Regions from separate parts of the Homo sapiens genome. Here all the other regions are linked to region 2. The links are contacts of gene promoters, found by promoter capture Hi-C in blood cells and fetal thymus (Javierre and others, 2016). All regions are on one chromosome and are shown on one strand. Each heading gives the region's core, a stretch centred on a gene start or on the middle of the fragment in contact. The rest is flanking DNA. Distances are from core to core; before and after follow the strand shown.

Region 1 (2,700 bases), core at 106-2,605, 4.9 Mb after region 2:
CTTCAATTGTACTGTTAATATTTTATTTCTCGAACTGGGTTTGGGGTATATGGATGCTTATTTTTCTTCATATACCATTTTGTATGAAATACTTTCTAGTCTTTTTTTATGTAATCACCAAAACATCTTTAATCAAAAGGTAAAATAAATGAAAACACTTCTCTGGAACTTTAAAGGTCAATGAAAATAGTTGTGTATGGTTTCAAATATTCTCCTGCTGAGTTTAAAAGGTAAATATCACTGTGTCCCCCAACATAAGAAAAAAAAAGCGTAATGTGCTAAAATATATATATATATAACTATTTCTAATCTAACTTAGTAAAATATAAAAGTACTACACAAATAGCACAAAACACAAAATAAATTTTATTACTAATAGCATGATAAACCCATTTAAGACTATTGAGAGACATACTTAACAATCTGTACTTTAAATACATTCAAGAGTCACATCTAGTAGCCTAGTGTTTCATCGTCAGATTGGCTGGTTGTTTTTATTGAAACAAATAAGAACTGCAATAATTTACCTAAAGTAAGCAAAGGCCTATCTAAATATCTACATAGAACCTATGTGTAAAAACTAAGTGCCTCCAAAATATCTGAAATTTTCCAACAAGAAAGTACAGGTCATTCAGCAAAATATATTTACTGTATACTACCATAATAGCTATTTAATTGTTATCATTATGATGTAGATATATAATGGAAACAGATGTTCCTTTTTCCTTTCAGCAAAGCAAAGGGAAAGTATAAACTTGCTGATATTGCATAGACTACTACCATAGCACAATAGAGGAAAAAAGACATTAGCACATGACAATATTAGTTTTTACTACACAACTAATTGCATAAAAAGTATAACTTGAGATCATTAAATCAATATAATTTTCAGCACTACAGAAGAGAAACAAATAGATGTGTATAACCAGCCTATTTCACATCTGCAGTTGGGAAAATACTTCTGACAGATTAAATATATGCAAAACGCTACCACTGCTTTCAGAACACAAGAAAAAGAGTGTTGTTCTGTTTTCTTTGCTCATGTAACATGAATTAGAATGCTGCCTCTACAGAGGAATTTTTTTTAAGTACCAGTATAAATTGGTAGAACCTTTCTGGAAAACAATTGGGCAATCAATATCAAGAACCTTAAAAAACAGTCTATATTCTCAGTCTAAGTAATTTCTCTTTTAATAACATATTGTAAGGAAATAACCATAGGGATGGCTAAAGATTTATTTAAAATGCTATTCATTACAACTTAGTTTATACAAATGAAAATTAAACATCTGAGTTGTCTAATAGAGCAATAATTAAAGTAGATATGTTAAAACATTATAGAGTCAATATAAATGACTTTAATAATTTTAATCATATTACATTAAATGCTTAGAAGAATAAAGTTTAGAGAAAACCTTATTATACAAAATGGCATTTCTAATTTTTGTAAATTCTGTCTTATGGGCATATACTACTTTTATCAGAAAAAGTTATTTTTTCTTTAAACAGTTCTATTTCTATCATCTGATATTCTCAGTCCAAAGTTTCTAAAATTCTTTGGGCAAAAGAGTCCTATAAATATTTACAGGTAAATTGACTTAAAGTTATGTTGATATGTTATTTGATCCTGAAATCTGGCACAGAAAAAGAAGTATTTGTCAATCACATAGACAACACCTTTTTTTTTCCTGGGTTAAACGGAATCCTTACAAATTAGGGAAAATTTTTATGGAACAAACATTACAAATGCTTCCTTAAGATCTATTAATATGATATGTAGTATGTTGCTAATTCAAGGAAATTTTCAATTACAAATATTTGTAAAGCAAATGAAGTAGCCTATTGATTGCTGTTTCAGTATGCCAGTAAAAAAGTTTGCCATAGCTTTCCTAGGACTCTTAGTTTCCTGATTTTATTTTTACAAGAAGAAGCTGATTTGTCTTAGGCTATTACTGTCTATTACTTGTAGAAGTCTTGAGCAAAGGTGGGAAGCAGCAAATTCTGGCAATCTGCCTAAAGAGAAATCAATGAAACAAATTAATCCTTTGCAGGCTGCAATGACACAGTAATCCATCATTCAGAGCTGTTTTTATATACCAAATCAGAGAGCAGAGGAAAAGAGCCCTGGGGGATATCACAGGCAACAACTTACACCAACACTGAGAAAATACTGAGGAATCAGTTTATTTAAAGAGGATAGATTTCAGTTGATTGCCTATTTCGTCAAATAAAGATTTTTCTTCCACAGTGTGGTGAACCCAAGGGCCAGTGACTGTATCTTCAGAATTCAGTACCATCTATGCTGGCTGACACCAATAGGAGATGAACGTTTTTAAATAATTAGCATCATTAATCAGTATGGTCAAATATCTGGGTAAAATAAATATTACTTTGTCCATCCAACTACAAAGTGTTATACATGGTCCTTGTTTTCACCAGAAACTAAGTGTAAATTTACCTACTAATCTACAACTTAACTGACTAATTCCTGGTACACCATATTTGAGGTACTTCTTCACACATAAAATGTAACCATTTAAGATATATGTTACTTCCTAATGCTGTGTTAAGTTTAAAGACTTAAAATTTTTAATTCAAGCTCTTGTGTAAATTCCAGCAAGCAAGTCAGATTATAAATAAATGACTTATTTTAAAATGATAAATAATAATTTTGCTCATAATGTAGTTGACAGTGTTGGA
Region 2 (2,700 bases), core at 190-2,689:
AGAAGTCGCCACCACAGCCACCGGCGCCCCTTTCTTGCCTGCTCGTAGATCTGCCCTCCGGCCCAGAAGAGGCCGAGGACCATTTCTTAGCTGCCCCAGAGGAGGGGGCGAGCAGAGGAGGGGGCGGATGTGCACAGGGAGGTGCCAGCGGTCCGGTGCGCGGGCACGCACACGCCGGCGCGCAGGGCTGCCGCGGGCGGAAGGAGGGGAATGACAAGGCCTCGGCCGCGTCTCGGAGAGGCACTACCTCCGCGCTGAGGCCGCTGAGTTTCAAGTGCAAAACACCAGGCCAAATCCGGCAAGGCGGCGGCTACAGAATGGCTCACACTTCAAGCCTCCTTCCTCAAACAATCCGATGGGAAGGACCTGGCTGTTCAGGGGAAGCCTTTGCTGGCCTCTCTTTTTACATGGGGTGAAGTCGAACCCCAATCTAGGAGCCCTGGCCTAGATGGCTCCGCAGATGAGTCCCAGACGTGGCCATGGAAAGACTGATCTCTCTCTGCTCAGAGCGCCTGCCTCGGTGCTCACTAGCGCAAGCACCTCCCAACACACATACATACATACACACACACACACAACACAGCACTCCCATCACATTAAAACGCGCGCTCATGATCCTGCCGTTAATGAAGCCGAGGCGCATAATGAGTGCACAGGTAAATAGGTACCGAAACCAGAAGACTTCACCAGTCGGCTGGGCGATTTACCTCTCCCTACAGGGAGCACTTGTAGTTATCGTGTTTTAGGAGTGATTTGCTGTTGTCTGTGGTCTCTCGCTCCTCTTCTTGTGGAGAGAAGCCAAAAAATATATATGTTCCGTGGTCAGAGTCTTCTTTCTGATAAGCTACCCGAGCATTGGTCTAAAACATCTGTTTTATCTGTTGATTTTGGTTTGTTGTTTTGGGGAGTGTTGCTTTTCTGAGGGAAGCAAAAGAACGTGTGTGTGGTGGGGCTGGAAGCTCAGGGCAAGAGTCTGCGTGTGCGGCCGGAAGGCTGGCGAGTCTGAGAGCCGCGCGGTGCAGAAAGAAGGCGGCGGCTTGTCCTCCCCCGGGGCCGGCACTGGTCCCTTGGCACCCCGGCCTGGGCTCGGCTACTGCCGCCGCCGCCCGCGCTCTCGGGCTCCGCCGGCTGCCGCTCCGTGTTTTCCCCCATCCCGGCTTCACGTTCAAGGTTTAGCTGCGAGGTCACGTCCATTGACGTCAGCTCCCTGTCTCCCTCTACGTCCGGCTACATTTACATACATCAAGGAAATTAGGGCATTAAAAAAATATGCAAATCCTGCGCGAAGAGGAGCGGGTGCATTCCTGGCGCGATCGCCTTTTATTGAAGCTTTTAATTAAAGGGGCCAGTTGGCGAGCCCCTGAAACAACCGCCAAAACCCCCCAAAAGAGAAAAATAAACGCTGTAGCCTTCGAGAACGGTTGTTTCGGCTCCTGTTCTGTGGGCGGCTGAGGACCGCCGGCTGCCCGGCTCGGAGAAGAACAGGTTAGAGGAGGCAGCTCCAGCCCATGCATAATCAGGGCTCCGCGGCGCCTCCATTCTTTCCTCCTCCTCCTCCTCCTCCTCCTCCTCCTCCTCCTCCTCCTCCTCCTCCTCCTCCTCCTCCTCCTCTTCCACCTCTCCTCCTCCTCCTCCTTCTCCTCCACCTCCTCCTCCTCTTCTTGCTCTCGCTCCTGTTGGTTCCAGCGTGTATTATTTTTAATACTGATGCATATGTAAAGGTATATTTGCATTTTTTAATTTGCGAGAATTTCAGATTTTGTCATTTTATTGGTTCCCTTTCCCTCTTTTTTTTTTTGGAGGATTTTTATTGTTGTTATTTTATTATGTCTATGTGTCTCTCTTGTCCCTTTCTGTCTTTTTTGGCGAGTGTCTGCTGCTGTCTCTTGCTAGATAATATACACAGTTACCTCCCTGCTTCTGTTTATTTAAGGTTACAAATATGCACATCTGTCATGTATGCAATGCCAGCTGTATAACCTCCTGGTTTGGTCATAAAGGAAAATACACATTTTTTTTTCTTTCTTGACATACCTTGATGGGCTGTAGTGCCCATCGCTCAAGGCTCAAAGTTTGATTGTCTAATTAACTTCATATTAGCAGAAACACAGTTCGGGGCCAGTGCTTTCGAGATAATGTATGTATAAGTGAAGTGATTCCAAAGATTTCTAAATAATTTTTGTGCTGATTGCCTGAGAGGTGCGGCATTCCCCGCCCTATTGCTTTCTAGCATTTCTTATTGAAAAAAATATATATATTTTAAAATGGGTAGACACAGCAATGGACAGCCTTCTGCAAGGAAGACATTTTCAACCATGTTGTATGTTGTACCTTATTGGCTGCATTCAAAATTTACTGAGTTTCATTTTTATCTTAATATGGCTGGAAACAAGGCACATTATCTTGACTGAAAAGCATCCTTGATTCCTGACTTTGAAATGAAAGCAAATACACAAATAAAACAATTGGCTATATTAAACCAGTTGATGTGGCTTAAAATATACAGGCCTTGAGTTAGATTTCAAGCAATGGTAATCTTGTTTATAGGATCGGATTCTCTTTCTTGGCAATATAGCTATGCAGCACGATGGCTTTTTTCCACCTTTTAATTCCCCCAAGCTATCATTTAAAAAAGACTCAATCTATAATTGCAAACCCTGAAAGAACAGCAAGTATGCACACATGCAGCTTATTCAATTA
Region 3 (2,700 bases), core at 131-2,630, 4.9 Mb after region 2:
TTCAGACCAGAGCATATAATTATGCAAATAAAGAGCTGTCACTGATCTAGTGAAATACTCACAAACACATGCACTCTGAAATTGGACAGAAAAGTGAAAATGGTTGGTGATGTGATGGTGCCATGGTTTGTTTTCCTGCCAAGTTTCTATCCAAATTCATTATTCAAATTGTAAACTTTAAAAGGAGATATATCATTCTTGGGGTGTTGGTTGTCTTTTCATTTCAGATTCTTTGTATTGGTATTGCAGGCTGGCCACAAAGTACAGTTCAACATTATTTTACCCATGACAGTTCTCCATATTACCCGAGGTAATAGCCAAGGAAGAAAAAGATGAATGATCTAAAAGGAAAGATGTAGGACTTCTCTAGATTTCTTTCTAGAAACATGCTTCATGTCTGTTTCAAACAGAACTCAACTCCAACAATATAAAGGATATAGTGAAAGGTTTTTCACAAATCTCAAGGCGAAGGACTGGGAAAAGTTGCTTAGAAGGCCTCATGGACTAAGTCAAATTTCCACTTTCAAGCTTTTTATATTCCAGGGGAAAATAGTGGTCACTGTGTGGTATCCACTTCATGGTCAAACTTTCAGGATGACTTTCTCCCATCTAGCAATTAAAGCCAACTATTTAATATTTGGTGATTTTAACCTTTGTGGTTCATTTTACAGTTATTACTTCTCTAAAACCTTTGTGCTGGGAATTAACAAGAGTTCTTCAATCTAATCACGCTCTTTGGCATCAAGGTCTCCCAATTCTAAAGTTACCATTGCATAGGCTGTTGCATAATTTTAGACGTCATGGAGAGTCCCACTGATGAAATCTGAGAAGGCTCATGTCAGACCACTGACTGCTAAAGACATCACTACATGAAAGATCAGTAGTGTGAAACTTTAAAAACATCGATCCAAATGAATCAATTAAATCAACATTCATCCCTCTTAAGTGTGTGGTTTAAAACTATCATTGTTGCTTTTTTAAAAAAACCTTACATAGATTTTGAGATAAATGCTGGAATGCTTTGATGGCTACTTCTATTCTCGAATCTCCGTTAATCGACTTTGTGCTATTCCCCTCTTTTCAACATCTTCCACTTGGTGTACATTCTTTACTTTTAGTACAGTGCATGACAGTTGCAATGCTTTAAATCTAAAACCGCCTAACAAAGCTGACGCTTTAGGTAGGGTAGCTTTAAGCTCTGTGAAGTGTTGATTAAAAACCCTTTCCCAGACTCAAACTGATCTTTTTGGAGATTAATAGAATATTAGATAAAAGGAAGACGAACAATTCAAGAGACTCCCACTCAGTCATTCTATATAAGGAAGGAAGGAAAGTATTCAATTTTTGAAAGGGAGTACCTCCTGGAGTCTTTTATTTTATATTATTATGGCCACTAATAAGTAATAATAAAATAACCACCACCATCATCCCCCTTTTTGCCACCCATATTTCAAAGATGAGAGTGTCTCACATTTAAAGACATTTTTTTTTCTCCACAGAGGCATGTGGAAAGTTTTTGAGAAATTTTTACACTTTCTGTAGTAGTACTCTTTCTTAAATGAATTAGGATTACAGACACCAACAGGAACCTGTCAGTTTACAGTAAAAAATATGATTATAACAAGAGACACACGTGTTTGGATTGAACCGCAGATAATCCAGAGAAACAAACAAAATCTAACTTATTAGCACGGATAATACAGTTAGCATATCTCTAAAAGGGGCTAAAGGTTTTAAGAAAGCTGTAAAAGAAATGTAAGTTATTTTCAGATCGAACACAGTACATCAAGAACCTATATACATGTACTTGGAGGCAACTTAAACTCACCAGACTCCTCTTGGAAAACACATTTATTTATGGCATATTCAAGTGTATTTTATAAAACAACAATTTAATTGATAGGTTGTTCAGATTTCCTTGCTAAGGAGATATTTTAGATATTAAAAACAACTGTCTTAGAAATGTTAGCTTTGTAAAAGGTGCAAGCCAAATAGTGACTCAACTAAAGTTAGGATATTACCTTACAGCAATACTAACAGAAATAAAAAGTAGCCAGAAGGTTTAAAATATTGACGGATGCTGTCTCATCCTTCCTTTTATGTTTTTGCTTTAAAAAATCTCTATGCAATTGGTGAATAAGCAAGAATTCTTCTGAGCAAGAATAATAACACCGCTGTTGTTGGGAAAATTGTTTTTATTTTAAAATGGAAATGGAAATATAATATACAGGAAAAGCTTGTGCTTTCCTTTTTTTTTTTTACTTCGCATAAACAATAATAATGCAATCCAGGTCAAAGCACGAGGCAGAAACTCGAGAAAAGAACAGTTATTAAAGGTACATGGTCTTCTTTTCAAATATCCATGAAAACATTTAACGACGGGATGGCTAGTACCTATAGAAAGCTCCAAAGCAATAATCTGGCCTTTAAGTTTCGACGGGACTATTTTGAATCTTAGATTTATCAGTCACTCCTTTCCCATTCTACTTGTTCTAAGAATTAAGTATATAATTAAAATAAAAAGGCCACATCCTGACTTTAAATCTCCACTCTCCTAAAAACCTGTTTGAGGAAACAAAAATGGGGAAGAAGATCAGAACAAAAATATTGTTAACACTGGCCGTCCTCATGCAGGTGGGCTACTACCAACGCTGGTTGTTACTCCAGGAAAATCGAGGTGAACATTATTACATTTATATC
Region 4 (2,700 bases), core at 65-2,564, 4.9 Mb after region 2:
CTCCTCTCCTTTTGTCTTCAGATCTGGAGGAGAAAAAGATTTCTCGGTGGAAGCTGGAGCCTGAACTTCCATGTGGTTGTTGGAGATTCGGTGCCTAAAAAAAGACATACCAGGATCTTGCCTGATCTTTCACTCTGCTTTTAAAAACTTTCCTCTTAAAGAGGGAACTTTTTTGCTTTTCTCTCTCAAAGTATAATATGCTTGTTGAAACTTCAAACTTAAATGGGAGAGAAAAATTCTCTGAAAATATTTTGCCATTTTTCCTTGTTTACACAAAGAGAGGTGGATGTTTACATGTTTGATTCACATACACATGTAAAGCTGGTACTTTCGGTTAAAACTTTCTAGAACATAGCAATCAGGGGTTGTTTGAGCTTCCCACCCCGCTTTCTTTCTCTTGGTCATATTTTATTATGAGATAAAATTCATTTTGTTTTCTGTAATAAGCATCTTGCTCATTATTTTATTGCTCTCCATTGTTCTTTAAATGAAATACATCTTAAAATTACATAGATCTAGTTTTGTATTAACTATCAGAAAAATGCAATTTTAGAAATTTCTATTGTTGTAAGAAGCATTTAAAAATTATGCTCAATCATGCAGTTTTAATGACCTTACACCTATTTGGGGGAGAAGTGTCTTTTAGCCATATCTCAACGGGGATAAATATGTATCCACTTTGCTCTCCCAGATCCTGTTCCTTGAACTCCATCAAACTAGGCAGATAGTTTTACATTGGAGTGTACAAATTATCCCATGTTGACAGATGTTTGTCACTTAGTAACTTCTTTCCAAGTTTTTCCCCCTCCCCTAAGCTTTCTTTCCAGCTTGCTTTGTTGTTTTAAAATATGCATGTCTCTCACTGGAATGCCAGTCACGAGTGCAAACTTTGTGTCCAGCCTCCCACATGAAATGATCCTTTTAAAGGGAACTCGATATGTCTCAATCTGCACTTCACTCAAAGCCTCTGGGTACGGGCCACTCACTCACTGGTCCTGGCTCCAAAATAACTCAGCAGAAACGAGTTTCCAACTAAAAATCCCCTCGAATGTCTCCCAGGGAAGAAATATAGCTCCTATAATTAAAGGAGGCAACGGCCAGAGGGGGAGTGCAGCCGGCAGCCAAAAAAGAAAAGTAAGAGTTTTATTTATTTGCTGATTGAACTTGGGTTGTCATGACCAGCAGGTTTATCCACATTAGAAGTGCTGGAGGTTTGTACTATATGTGCACAGGAGGTAGAGGTGGGGAGAAAAGGAAGGAGAAGGAAAGTAGGAAGAATAACAGACCAGGCCAATTTTGAAGGAGAGAAAATGATCTCTGTGGGACAACGTAAATAAACTTCCTAGCACTGGATTTGACTAAAAACTTGTAGCTGAGGAATATGTGGAGAGGGGTTCAGAGGAGATGGGGGGTAATTATAGTAAACTCTTAGATGTGGGGTATCATCAGGAAAAGGAGGACTCTGTTTTCCCCAGAAAAGTAATGTGACAGCAGGAAATTTATTAGCTGTGCTGTGTGTGGCGGTTAGGTATGTGGGGGGTGGAATTATGGAGGGAGGCTCCAGAGAAAGGAAGAAGTTCCAGGACTCAAAGCAGAAGTGTCATGGAACCAGGAGCCCTCCACTCTCCTTGACAAAAGTTGCCTAGGAGGTGTAGATGTGAAATCTCTAGAAGACATTATCTTTGCACCTTATTAGTTTCATCTATTTGAGCTGATTCTGGCATTAGAACCACATATAAAATGAATCAGCGCACAGGATGAAGAACACCTCCCCACCTCTTGGGCCACCCTCCAAAAGGGGGTAGTAGTGATTATAAGCTTCAAAACACAAGGAGTACTCAGCCTGGGCAGCCCATTTCTATTAAAGAGGCAAAACTTTAGTACTGATGAAAAACAGATGATTTTTTTCTTCCTCTCTGAAACAGTTACTCTCTTTTACTGATGTGAAGTGACGTCAGCAATGCCTGCCCTATCCCCTTGGAGAGAGGGGAGAGAGGAGGAGGGTATGGAAGGAAGGAGCTGGGAGAAAGAGCAAGAGAAAAAGAGAAAGAGGAATTGACAGAAGAGGAAAAAGGGTGGTGGGGGGAGAGAATGAGAATGTATATCCTACACTTTGGGGGGCCAAAAATCCACAAAGAGTGGGCAAAACAATGCTTTAGAAGCCTGTGATTGATAAGACACCTTTCCTTGCTCTCACCCGATCTACATATTCTAACATATGGAAAGCTTAGAGGCCCTGTGCACTTATAGAAGCCGATAATGCATTAGCTCTCAGCAATATTTACAGCACCACTCTTAATACACACCAGATGGTTCGCGACTGTGCCGCCTCAGCCAGCTCACTCCTCGATTTTACTCGGCGGCACTTTGTTGCAATTACGCTCCATGCTGAGACCAATTTTATTGGTGACCTATTTTTCATATTTGCAGCATTTTATGTTAAAAACCTCCTCTCTGGCCTTTTTGTTAAGGGCAGCGCTCAGGAAGGGAGAGTTTAGGAGGACAGCGGTGCTGAGGGTCTGTCGAGGTGGATATTAATATTTATCGTGATGTTACATACCTTGGGTTTAAGTGAGTAAACCGGATAGACATAAGTACTCCGGTCATTATGTTTGTTCACTAACCCCTGTTTGTCAGACCCCCACGGACTCTACACGGCGCGCTTGCCTCAGAGTCAATACATCGGACCATAAATATTGT

What was found. The method cuts DNA at HindIII sites, captures the fragments that hold promoters and counts their contacts. A CHiCAGO score of 5 or more calls a contact.
Region 1: a contact is called between a fragment that was not itself captured here and the fragment with the promoter of MEF2C-AS2 in region 2, in 2 of 17 cell types (total B cells and naive B cells). The highest score is 12.4, in total B cells.
Region 3: a fragment that was not itself captured here is called in contact with the fragment with the promoter of MEF2C-AS2 in region 2 in 2 of 17 cell types (total B cells and naive B cells); the score reaches 10.5 in total B cells.
Region 4: a fragment that was not itself captured here is called in contact with the fragment with the promoter of MEF2C-AS2 in region 2 in 2 of 17 cell types (naive B cells and total B cells); the score reaches 30.3 in naive B cells.

The regions. Positions count from the first base shown.
Region 1 is chr5:93,565,549-93,568,248 of GRCh38, forward strand. All of the region lies in intron 1 of NR2F1-AS1 (NR2F1 regulatory antisense RNA 1), which reads right to left. Among named protein-coding and RNA genes, the nearest start is that of NR2F1-AS1, 14 kb to the right of the region's middle. The HindIII fragment of the contact is 4,981 bases long and covers 1-2,700 here.
Region 2 is chr5:88,674,779-88,677,478 of GRCh38, forward strand. MEF2C-AS2 (MEF2C antisense RNA 2) reads left to right here and starts at 1,440. Exons shown (of 4, transcript NR_146284.1): 1 at 1,440-1,485. All of the region lies in intron 1 of MIR9-2HG (MIR9-2 host gene), which reads right to left. RefSeq lists enhancers at 412-511, 949-1,514. The HindIII fragment of the contact is 5,913 bases long and covers 1,328-2,700 here.
Region 3 is chr5:93,615,892-93,618,591 of GRCh38, forward strand. It overlaps ARB2A (ARB2 cotranscriptional regulator A), which reads right to left. Exons shown (of 11, transcript NM_032042.6): 11 at 1,834-2,700. Among named protein-coding and RNA genes, the nearest start is that of MIR2277, 3.5 kb to the right of the region's middle. RefSeq lists an enhancer at 2,243-2,700. The HindIII fragment of the contact is 1,708 bases long and covers 527-2,234 here.
Region 4 is chr5:93,599,707-93,602,406 of GRCh38, forward strand. No RefSeq gene overlaps it. Among named protein-coding and RNA genes, the nearest start is that of NR2F1, 18 kb to the left of the region's middle. RefSeq lists an enhancer at 1-185. The HindIII fragment of the contact is 1,003 bases long and covers 814-1,816 here.